Regions from separate parts of the Homo sapiens genome. Here region 2 is linked to region 1. Evidence: promoter capture Hi-C in human tissues and cell types (Jung and others, 2019). All regions are on one chromosome and are shown on one strand. The core of a region is centred on a gene start or on the middle of the fragment in contact, and the rest is flanking DNA. Distances in the headings are between cores, read along the strand shown. Region 1 holds the start of GRIN2C (glutamate ionotropic receptor NMDA type subunit 2C). Region 2 overlaps ATP5PD (ATP synthase peripheral stalk subunit d).

The links. Contacts are between HindIII fragments. The study calls those that stand out against the background at their distance.
Region 2: a contact is called between a fragment that was not itself captured here and the fragment with the promoter of GRIN2C in region 1, in 2 of the 25 tissues and cell types used here (lymphoblastoid cells and thymus).

Annotation. Positions count from the first base shown.
Region 1 is chr17:74,857,044-74,862,897 of GRCh38, forward strand. GRIN2C (glutamate ionotropic receptor NMDA type subunit 2C) reads right to left here and starts at 2,842. Exons shown (of 13, transcript NM_000835.6): 1 at 2,701-2,842. It overlaps FDXR (ferredoxin reductase), which reads right to left. Exons shown (of 12, transcript NM_024417.5): 12 at 5,454-5,854. The coding sequence ends at 5,774. RefSeq lists an enhancer at 3,669-4,367. The HindIII fragment of the contact is 10,960 bases long and covers 1-5,854 here.
Region 2 is chr17:75,038,647-75,044,500 of GRCh38, forward strand. It overlaps ATP5PD (ATP synthase peripheral stalk subunit d), which reads right to left. Exons shown (of 6, transcript NM_006356.3): 2 at 3,883-4,013; 3 at 3,535-3,631; 4 at 1,446-1,517; 5 at 563-625; 6 at 217-417. The coding sequence starts at 4,004. The coding sequence ends at 286. It also overlaps a transcript of KCTD2 not described here and the pseudogene RN7SL573P. Among named protein-coding and RNA genes, the nearest start is that of ATP5PD, 5.4 kb to the right of the region's middle. RefSeq lists an enhancer at 2,621-3,191. The HindIII fragment of the contact is 3,720 bases long and covers 1,071-4,790 here.

The DNA.
Region 1 (5,854 bases), core at 1,592-4,091:
CTATGGGTGAGACATGGTCCCTGCCCTCCAGGAACTTAGAGTCAAATCTGCAGAATGAGCATGCTGCTGTTAGCACCTCCAACCTCCTTTTTTCTAAATATATTTCTCTTTCCAACCTTCTCTCCCTACTTCCCTCAAACTCCCCAGCCTCCCCGTCAAGATCTTCTCTTAGCTAAGCATCTAGAGCTCATTCACAGGAAGGTATGAGGGACTGATCATAGCTGAAAGGGTTCTCATTCCCAAGAGAGATGTAGTTTAACCACAATCAGAGCCTTAAGCTAAAGTGCCAGGTGGTAGAATTTCAGGCCAAGAAGACAAGAGTTTTGGCAAGGAAGGGAATATTGCTCTCATGGTGGCGCCCTTGAAATCTTCCCATGTGTACGGTTCCCTAGTACAGTGACACAGAAGTGACAGAAGTGACAGAACTGACAGCCCAGAGACATGTTTGAGTCTGGCAAGGGATCGATCCTAGCCATGCCATGCCATGCCTCAGCTGCCACCACCAATCAGGGATGTCAGATCTCAACCACAAAGGACACTGACATGCTTGTCGCTCCCCTTGCACGGCCTCTGTCTGCTCACCTCTGCCCACACCTCCAGGTCCTAGAGGTTCCTTGCCCTCTGGGGAGCCCCAAACCTCCTACTACCCCTGCCTCCCAGTAATGAGCTCTAGATCTGTGCTGCCCAGTATAGGAGCCGCCAGTCATACACGACTATTGGGTACCAGAAACATCTCTCACCCAAACGGAGTTTGCTATCAGTGTAAAATTTCATGCCACACTGCACATTGAAGACAACAGGGAAAAAGAATGTAAAAAATCTCGTAAACACTTGTATCTTGATTACATGTTGAAATAATAACATTTGGGGTATGTTTAGTCAAAGAAAATATACTATTAAAATTAACGTCACCTGTTTCTATTTGTTTTAATGTGGTTACTAGAAAATTTTAAATTGTACTTGTGGCTCCCATTTTATTTCTTTGGACAGTGTGACCCTGGATGAAGGGCCCAGGCTCTCCCTCAACTGCAAAGGGGCAGAATAAGCAGTCTGCCATTAGCATCTCCAACCTCCTTTTTCTAAATGTATTTCTCTTTCCAACTCCCTACTCCCCTCAAGCTTCCACCCTCCCCAGTCAAGACCTTTTCTTAGCCAAGGACCTAGAGCTCATTCACATGAAGGAATAAGGGTCTGGTAATAGCTGAAAATGTTCTCATTCCCACTCTCTCCAATAGGAAGACATCCTCATGGGCTGGGGACACCAGAGACTCTCTCCAAAGGGAAGGTGTCCTGCTGGGTTGGGGGTTGGGGGTCGGGGGGTGGGGGAGTTGAGGCAGGTTGTACCTCTAATCAAGGGGCCTAAAATGGGGGAGGGATCCCAGAATACCTCCAGAGCCAGGGGCCAAAACTAGGTAAGTCCCTGGGCTCCAAATAGCAAGGGGCAGACTCAAGGAGCTTCCGAATTCTGTCTCATCACCCCGTCTAACCCAGCCACCCTACAGAGGTAGGAGGGACAAACTCCACTTTCCCCCGCCACAATCTCCTCCCTTGCCTCCCCCTCCCCACCTCCCACCTACCCACCCCCGCCAGCCCCACTGCACTGCTGAAGCCTTCCTCCAGCCACTGCTCCCTCCTCACACAGGACAGCTACACCCTGGTGCCCACAAATGAAGTCCAGACAGCTTAGTCCCATAGACAGAGCCCTCTGCACCCTGACCGCAACCAACCGTCCTCCCATCCCTGGAACCCACAGCTCTGCCAGTCTGCTGGCCAAACAGCCCCATTCTGCCCTCATCTCCAGGCCTCGTTCCAGCATCCCCCAGGCTGGAATGTCCTCATCCCAACAGAAGTCTACTCTCCTTCAGGGCCCAGCTGAAATCCCTCTCCCACAGGCACCTGCCTTGATGCCTCAGGCTCTAGGCGCAGGGACTGCGGCCAGGCTGGGGCACCTGCCCTTCTTCCCCCTGCCCTGGCTTCCCCTCCTGGGTGGGGAGCTCTGTGTAGTGGTCCCCTCCACCCCTCCATTCTGCCCTGCGGCAGGTGTGTGTGCACTCATTAACACCCTGCCCCACACTGGACTGCGGGCTCCTTGAGGGCAGACACATTGTCTCAGAGACCTCTGCCCACCCACCCACTCAGGGTCTCACCCCTTCCACAAACAGCCCTTAAACTAATGTTTGACAAACACAGAGATCCCCAAAGAGCCCCAGAGAGGATGGCAGTGGTCAGTCCTGCAGGACACAGCAGCATCTAGAAGGGTCTGAGCACCTTCCCAGGCTGGGGGCCTTCTCCTTCCCGGGTCCTCACAGCTCAGCCAGACCCCCTGGCACGGACCTGCACACACATGCACACTCCCGCACTCATACCCGCTCACATCTGAGATACCGATGGCTCTCCCTCTCCCAGGCTAGGAAACTCTGTCGCAGGAGTCCTCCCCACCCACCAGCAGAACCCCCGGACCCCCTGCCCTTCCGGTGAGCCGCCCCTCCTTTGCCGTCGGGTTTCCCTCCCTCCCTTTTGCCCAGCCAAAACCCGAACCCAGGCGCCAGGGGAGAGGACCGCCGTTCTAGCTTGCCCCACTGCTGGGGGCACGGAGTTCTTGCTCCTCCAAGGCTACGGCCCCCGTCTCCGCGGACCCCGCCCGGACTCCCCCTGGCCACCGGGACGCCCCGCCCCCTCCCCTCCGCAGCAATCTCTTACACTCGGGCTGTGAAGTTCGGGGTATTTTTAGGCCGGCGATAAATAATTCATAGGGAACGTGGCATCAGGCTCCCCCCGCGGGAGGAGGGGGCGCGAGCAGCGAGAGCCACCGTCACCCGCGGCTCAAGGACACTCGCGATGCGGCGGCGGCGGCGGCGGCGGCGGCTCCGGGCGGGGACCCGCGCCACGCCTCCTGGCGGCCAAGCTGAGCACCACGCACCCGGCGCCCCCCGCCCCACGCTGCCCCCCGCCGGCGTCCGCGGCTCCGGGGCCCCCACCCCCACTCCCCCAAGCTGGGTCGTGACCCCGAGTCCCGCAGTGGGGGGACCAAGCCAGCCTGGCAGGCGGCCCCAGTACCATCCCAGGCCCGCCCGGGGGCCCTGGGCGAACCCAGGTGTCCCGGACCTGCCTACCTGCCCCTGGCACGCTCTTATTCTTCGGGAGTTTAGAAACAGGCTCAAAGTCACTAGCACCGCCAAGACCTGGACGGGCTCTGAAATACAGCCAGCGGAATGGTACCCTCCCCAAATAAGTGTCTTTCCTCGATTTTCCTGTGGCCCGGGGTCAGGGACTGAACTAAGATAACGCCACCATCCGAGGGCTGGGGGACCGAGCCAGAAGTCCCCTTGGACGACCAGGGCTGGGAAACCGAGTGGACGAATGGGGTGGGCATCAGGGCCTGGCGGGAATTCCCGTCTTGCTCACCCAGCAGCTCCTTGCAGGGTCGCGGGACGCACCTGGGGGTTCAGGTTGCCGGGTGCCTTTGCTCCGCGTGTCCCCGCCCTGCCCGCGTAGGCAGGAAACAGGAGACTCGGGGCTTCCCCTCCCCGCCGTCGGGGATCCTGGGCGAAGCCCCCAGAGACCGGCGCAGGCGGCTGGTGCGCAGCCAGGGCCCAGCGCCAGGTCTTGCTCGCCCAGTGCCCTCTCTGCCTACCCTTCCCTTTGCGCTCTGGAAGCCCGGGAGCCGGGCACGGGCCAGCATCTGCAAGATGCCACTACTCTGGAAGCCCACTCCGATTCTCCCAGGTCGCAGGAAGGAGAGAGCTAGGCTGGGGCAAAGGAGATGGGGCAGAGCTGGAAGGGGAAGAAGCGGGACTCGCGGCGGGGGAAGGGGTCTGGGCGCCGAGGCGAGTGCGCAGCAGGTGCCCAGCAGACCTAGGGAAACTGGGGCACTGGGCTGGGGAGCCGCACAGCCCCCTTTCACCTTCTCGACTCCTTTCCAACCCCTCGCTCTGGTGGATCCCAGCCCCGGCCCCCACTCCCGGCCCTGTTCCCCGCTCTCCGCCCCGGCGGCTTCCAGCAGCAACAGTTTGGGTCCGCGGCAGCCCAGACTCCCCTGGTCCCGCGGTGCTGCCGCGCCAAGCGAAGGAGGAGGAGGGCTCGGCGACCCTGGGGACGAACGTCTTGGACGCTTCGCCCGCGTCCTTCTCTCGCGTCCGCCGCGCGCCTGTCTGCTCGGCCTCTTCTTCGCCTTCTCTCCGGCCGCCCGGGTCAAAACCCAAGGCCAGGTTCTTGAGGGTCCGGGTCCTCCAGCCGCCCCCTCCTTGAGCCCCGAGAGTCCTGCGTGGGTCCAACCCCCCGGGTGTCCCGCCTCTGTCTCCGCCGTCCTTGCTCGCGCGCCGCGGGAACCCAGCCCCAAGTTGGCGGCGAAGTTGGTGCCCCTCGCCCGCCGCTCGCCACTTACCGAGGGGAAGGGGCGCTGCGCCCGCGACGAGAGCCCGCGCCGGCCGCCTCCCTCGCGGTGTCTGTCCCAGAGCCTCGGCCCCGGAGGGCTGGCGCGCTCAGTCTCAGCTCCGCGGGCGCCGGAGCCCGGGCGCGGCGGGGCGGGGGCGGGGGCGGGTGGCGCGGCCTGGTCCGCTGGCCCCGACCCGCCCCTGCGCCCCGCGACCCTCCCGAAGCTCGCACGGCGCCCGGCTCCGTCCCGGGCTGGGCTGCGCACCGCGCCTCCTGCTCCCAGAGCTCGCAGCCGACTGTGCGGGAGCTCTCACCGCCGCCCGCGAGGGCCCGCCCCGCCGGGGCCCGCCACCTCCGCCCCGGCCCGGCCCGGCCCGCTGCCCCTCGAGGCCCCTCCCGCCGCATTCCCGGGCCCCTCTCCCCTCTCCGGAACCGCGTCCCCAGACCTGACACTCGGGGCAAGTGCGCCTCGGAGGACACACCAGCCTGCCCGGAGCCTGGGTTTGAGCCCGCAGCTCACGAGTGTGTGACCTTGGGCCAATTTCGAGGACCCCTCAGGTTATACAGCGAGGCAGCATCTTGAGGGCTGCCATAAAAGGGAGTGACCACTCTCTGGACACTGCAAAGCCCTAGGGAGACTGAGGCACTATTTTTAAAGGCCAGTGTGTCTGACTGGAAACGGAAGCAGGAAGGCTTTGAGAGCCAAAGAATGGGCCCCAGGCTAGACTCGCCTGGGGCACCCAGAGGTACAGGGGACAAGCTGCTTCTCAGTCCCCCGCTCCCATTTCTTTTCTGTTTTGATTGTACTGAGGGCTCCCCAGGGAGGGGTGGTCCCGGTCCCGGTCCCGGGCAGCCCTAGTGTGGACAGAAGACAGGCAACCCGCAGCCACAGCAGGGCCGAGCGGAGAAAGGAAGGGTGGCTATGCCAGGCCTGGCTGCCGAGCCCCATCAAGCCCCCAATGAGGCCCCTGAGCAGGGAGCCGTCTCTGCAGCGCCACCTGGTGATGGTAGGGGAGCTACGGCCAGAAGGTGACCCCCGACCCCAACCCTTCCAAAAAAAGTCCCCCATCAACCATGGCTCTTGGTTGCAGCTGTTTTATTTCCAGCATGTTCCCAACCTGGTGACCCTCCACAGTCCAGCAGTAGAGAGATGGGTAAGGGGTTAGATCGGCCCACACCTCCACCTGTCCCTAAGGTTACCTCAGTTGCTGAAAGCTAAAACCTTGCGCGCAAGGGCGACCTTCCCCAGGAGGGAGGAGAGACGCTGGAAGAGCAGCCAAGCCTCCAAGCCAGGGCCGGCCGGGATCAGCAGAGGTGCAAAGTCCCACTCAGACGGACCCAGCCCTTCCCCTCCCAACACTCATCCCTTCCCTGCTGGGGGCCGGGGCTGGGGCTGGGCTCAGTGGCCCAGGAGGCGCAGCATCTCCTGAGGATCCACCAGCTTCTCCCTGGGCTTCCCCGTGCCCTGGCCCCGGGCCAC
Region 2 (5,854 bases), core at 1,681-4,180, 180 kb after region 1:
AGTGAAATACACTGCCATAGCCCCTAGTGTTATTTGTTGCCATTTCAGCAGTCCTGGGGCCTCAGTAAGTGGCGCCTACACAGCCCGTCAGACAACCAGCCCAACAAACCTGTCGAGGCTCACCTTTCCATTTAAACAAAAACCCCGCTGCCAGTGAGGCCAGCTCAGAAGAGAGGCTTAATTATCTCAACCACAGAGAAGAAGCACACCCAGAACTGTATAATTATTATTTTTAATGTCCAGAATGTGTAATACAAGGGCCAGAGCTTCCTCCTGGACTCAATTTTATAAATTCTCAATTGGTTGGTGAGGCCAATAGGGATACTTTTTCTTGTCTAATTTGGTTTCTGGGAAAGCTTCATTCAAGTCCTCAATGGTCATCTGATCAAATGGAATTAAGTTCTTCATCTTCTCCATCTGGAAAGAGGGGGAATGTGTTTAGTTAATGTAAACAGAGACGGAAAGCAGAATATCCAAGGCAGGTTCCTGCCACCAGGTGAAAGATGTGTGGTCATGAAAGAGAGAACCCATATTATAGGCAACGGCTACCCATCATCCTTACCTCTTTCTCATATTCTACAATCCTGGCCTTTGAGAGAGACACCCACTCAGCACAAGATTTCACCTTTAAGAAGAAAGAGAAATTCAGTTCTGAAACCAGGCTGCATTCTACCCCAGCAGCTGCTAAGGTAGGAGTCGTCCCAGCCCACTCCTGCTGTCCTATTGCTCTATGGAGAAACTGTGGTTACCCTGAGTGGGGGCGCTCACTCTGACAGGCAAACCACAGCTTTTCTTAACACTCACAGAGAAGCCCATATGGAAAACCAGCTTAGGATGGCAGCACCCGGCTGCTTCTGCAAGTTCCTCATCCGAAGACCTACAGAATGCCTGTTTTCACAGGGCTCAGCCACTGAATGGTCAGGACACGCCACCTGAGCACCTAGCCAGACTTCTCTCTGGTGGAGCCACTGAGTTCCATAGTTGGCCTTCAGTGCTTTCAAGCAAATAATTAGGTATTTGAATACTACTTGGGTAATTTTTCTAATTCCAACTCCTTGTTTCTAACAGCTTTGTTGAGGTATATCTGAAATATGATAAAATGCACATATTTAAAGAACACCATTTGATAAGTTTTGATATAGGTATCCACCTGTGAAACCAGCAGTCCCCTCTCAACCATCCCCAGGCAGCCACTGTAGACAAACTACATTTTCTAGAGTCTTACAAAGATGGAATCATATGCTATACTCTTCTTTTTCTTGTTGGCTTCTTTCACTCCGCATAATTATTTTGAAATTCGTCCATGTTGTTGCATTTATTGACAAGTCATTCCTTTATATGGCTGTTAACTCTTCCATTTAATTCACTCTAACTTAACTTAGCTATAATAGAGAGCTGTCAAGATCAAGAGAATTTTAGAATAAGCAGGAGCCTCAACTACTTACATCTTCTTTTTCTTCGGCATCCACCTGGGCAGTATATTTATCCTCTGGCACGGGAACCTTCAGCGCATTAAACTACAAACACAAGGGCACGGGAACCTTCAGCGCATTAAACTACAAACACAAGGACAGTGAGTCGTCGCCAATACACCCAGGAGCTCAAAGGGCTGGAAGCTACGAATCCTTAAAGGTCATACTGAAAGACATTCTGTGTCCCAAGCGGAAACGAATACGCATCTCAATACTGGAGTAGAAAGAATATTAGACTGGGAACAGGAGCTCAAGGGTCTTCTCAGCCCTATCACTAACTCGGAACCCTGGACAATTCTTTATGATGATAAGCTTCATTTTCTTCATCTGAAAAGGACAGCTGGACTTGATGACCAAAAAATGGCCTCTTAGCACCTTGAATTGTAAAGAAATTCTGATTTCTCTTCTGCATGGAACCCTAGGGAGCTGACTGGTGGAAGGAGCACTGCGTAATGAATGGTCTCCTTAGAAGACTGCTTAGTGTTAGCCGGGTGCGGTGGCTCATGCCTGTAATCCCAGCACTTTGGGAGGCTGAGGCGGGCGGATCACCTAAGGTCGGGAGTTCGAGACCAGCCTGACCAACATGGTGAAACCCCGTCTCTACTAAAAATACAAAAATTAGCTGTGCAAGGTGGCCAGCACCTGTAGTCCCAGCTACATGGGAGGCTGAGGCAAGAGAACTGCTTGAACCTGGGAGGCGGAGATTGCAGTGAGCTGAGATGGCCCCACTGCACTCCAGCCTGGGCGACAGAGCAAGACTCCGTCTCAAAAAAAAAAAAAAAAGACTGCTTAGTGTTATGGCTCCAGCACTTAACACTACCTGGCACAGAGTAGGCCCTCCATACACATCTTTGAATGAATAAGCAAATGAACTCTGGATATTGAGACTTGTGTAAATATCAGAGGAGGATAGATGGATGAGAAATTACAGCTATAAGGGACAGTTAAAAAAAGCAGAGGCTGGGCATGGTGGCTCACACCTGTACTCCCAGCACTTTGGGAGGCCAAGGAGGGTGGATCACCTGAGCTCAGGAGTTCGAGACCAGTCTGGGCAACATGGCGAAACCCCGTCTCTACCAAAAATACAAAAAATTAGCCAGGCATGGTGGTGCTGTGGTCCCAGTTACTCGGGGGGATGAGGTGGGAGGAAGGCTTGAGCCCGGGAGAAAGAGGTTGCAGTGAGCTGAGATGGCGCCACTGCACTCCAACCTGAGTGACAGAGTGAGACTCCAACTCAAAAAAAAAAAAAAAAGAAGAGCAGAGAGGTGGATTGCCTGAGCCCAGAGTTTGAGACCAGCCTGAGCAATATGACAAAAACCTGTCTCTACCAAAAAAAAAAAAAAAACAAAACGAAAATTTATCAGGTGTGGTGGTGGCATGCACCTGTAGTCCCAGCTACTCAGGAGGCTAAGACAGAAGGATGGCTTGAGCTTGGGAGGCAGAGGCTGCAGTAAGCTGAGATTGCGCCACTGCACTCCACCCTGGGTGACAGAGCAAAACTCCGTCTCAAAAGAAAAAGGACAGGAAAAGAGTAGAAAAAAAGTCAGTTTGTTCCAAAGGGAGACAGGAAGGAAGCTAAAAGGAACCCAGGAGGTGGGCAAACATTTAACTTGAAAGCCCCCTGGGGCGTGGTGGCGCATGCCTGGCTGAGGCACGTGGATTGCTTGAGCCCAAGAGTTCTGGGCTGTAGCGCGTTATGCCGATCGGGTGTCTTCACCAAGTTCAGCATCAATATGGTGACCTCCCAGGAGCGGGGGACCACCAGGTTGCCTAAGAAGGGGTGAACCGGCCCAGGTCAGAAACAGAGCAGGTCAAAACTCCTGTGCTGATCAGAAAGCCCTCTGGCTCCCAGATTAAGGCTACACTCTACTGCTGAATGAACAGAGCCTAAATTCCTGCACCTATTTACAGTTCAATCGACCACAAGGCCTTTGGCCATACGCATCCTTCCTAAGCTTCCTTAGGGATCTGGCTGTCATGCTGTGTATGTAATTATCCCTGTTCCTGCTCCCTACCCACAGGCATGTTACAAGCTCAGTGCTTTAGAGGTGTGAAGTCTCACCTTCTTCTCAAAGTCATCCACCAAGCCAGCCTTGGCCACATTGGCCTTGTAGTAAGCCCAGTCGATAGCTGGTGGATTCTCAGGTAAAGCAGCCAACCTGCCCACAAGGAAAGGCAAAAGTTAGGATTGTTCATAAGCAGTAGAAAATTCACATGGTAATTTTCCTATCCCTTCTTCCTATGGCCTGGAGGGTCACCACACTTTCCTCTCCTAAGATCATCATGAAAATGCAAGGATTTCTTTATATGTTGTCATAAGGGCATCAAGAATTCATATGTAATTCCTTAATACTGTTTTGTTTCTAGATTCAGTGGCAAGTATGGGGTTCCCTCTCAGAAACATACTGACCTGGAGGTGAGGGTCTCATTCCAGGATTTCAGGGAACTAGCAATGGCCTTTTGGTTCTGGGGTATGATCTCTGCAAAAGCTACCCAGTCAATGGTTTTTAGAGCAAGTTTTCGCCCAGCCATTTTGGGATCCTGAAAAATAAGTCAAATAAAAACAAGGCTTTTTTATGAGGTGAATTTTCAGTTGGGAAAAATGATAAATAACAAAATAAGAGCTCTTAGAGAGAATCCTTTAAATCTTAGAAACATGCAAGTCTTCACAAGAATCACTTGAACCCAGGAGGTGGAGGTTGCAGTGAGTCGAGACTGCATCACTGCACTCCAGCCTGGGAGACACAGCAAGACTCCAACTCAAAAAAAAAGAAAAAAAGACAGTGTAGCTTTTCAAATTCAAGGTAATTCAAGGTGTGCGGCCAGGCGCAGTGGGCTCACGCCTGTAATCCCAGCACTTTGGGAGGCCAAGACGGTTGGATCACCTGAGGTCAGGAGTTCGAGACCAGCATGGCCAACATGGCAAAACCCCATCTCTATTAAAAATACAATAATTAGCCAGCCGTGGTGGCCCGCGCCATAATCCCAGCTACTCCAGAGGCTGAGGCATAAGAATCACTTGAACCCAGGAGGCAGAGGTTGTAATGAGCTGAGATGGCATCAGTGCACCCTAGCCTGGGCAACACAGCAAGAGTCCGTCTCAAAAAGAAAAGGAAAGGACAGTGTAGCTTTTCAAATTCAAAGTGTGCAATGTGGCATACAAATACATTCTCTCCCAACTCCTATTTAGCCTTAAAAGCCCAGCTCTCTTGGCCGGGCGCAGTGGCTCATTTCTGTAATCCCAGCACTTTGGGAGGCTGAGGTGGGTGGATCACTTGAGGTCAGGAGTTCAAGACCAGCCTGAGCAATAGGGTGAAACCCTGCCTCTACTAAAAAATACAAAAATTAGCCGGGCGTGATGGCATGCACCTGTAGTCCCAGGTACTCAAGAGGCTTAGACAGGACAATCACTTGAACCTGGGCGGCGGAGGTTGCAGTGAGCTGAGATAGCGCCATTGCACTCCAGCCTGGACACAGAGTGAGACTCTGTCTCAAAAAAAAAAAAAAAAACAAACCCCAGCTCTCTTTATCCCCTCCATGTGCCTCTGGAAAAATTACTAAAAATAACACTCTTATTGCATAAAAGTTAATAAAGACATTTCCACCCAGATTGTGTTTTATTCACTGATTCTCCAGTAGACAGAAACTGACACACACCTAAGTTTCAACAAGCCTTAAATAGAGCACTCTCTAGGCTAAAATTTACTTATGTGTACAATGGGCATTATCAGTCCTGCTTGCCCCAGAGGGCTGCTAAAAGTGTCACATGAAATTGTGCACAGCAACTTGCTCCAGAGTTTTACAAACTTAAAAGGGCTATCCCCTTCCAACTAGATTGGTAATACACCTGCACCTTCTTATTCACATCGGATTATACCCTAGCAGCACCAGCACACGTTGTGCACTTTTTTTTTTTTTTTTTTTGAGATGGAGTTTCACTCTGTCCCCCGGGCTGGAGTGCAGTGGCATCATCTTGGCTCACTGCAACCTCCACCTCCCAGGCTCAAGCGATTCTCCTGCCTCAGCCTCCGGAGTAGCTGGGATTACAGGCACCCACCACCACACCCAGCTAATTTTTGTATTTTTTTTTTTTTTTTTGAGACGGAGTCTCGCTCTGTCGCCCAGGCCGGACTGCGGACTGCAGTGGCGCAATCTCGGCTCACTGCAAACTCCGCTTCCCGGGTTCACGCCATTCTCCTGCCTCAGCCTCCCGAGTAGCTGGGACTACAGGCGCCCGCCACCGCGCCCGGCTAATTTTTTGTATTTTTAGTAGAGACGGGGTTTCACCTTGTTAGCCAGGATGGTCTCGATCTCCTGACCTCATGATCCACCCGCCTCGGCCTCCCAAAGTGCTGGGATTATAGGCGTGAGCCACCGCGCCC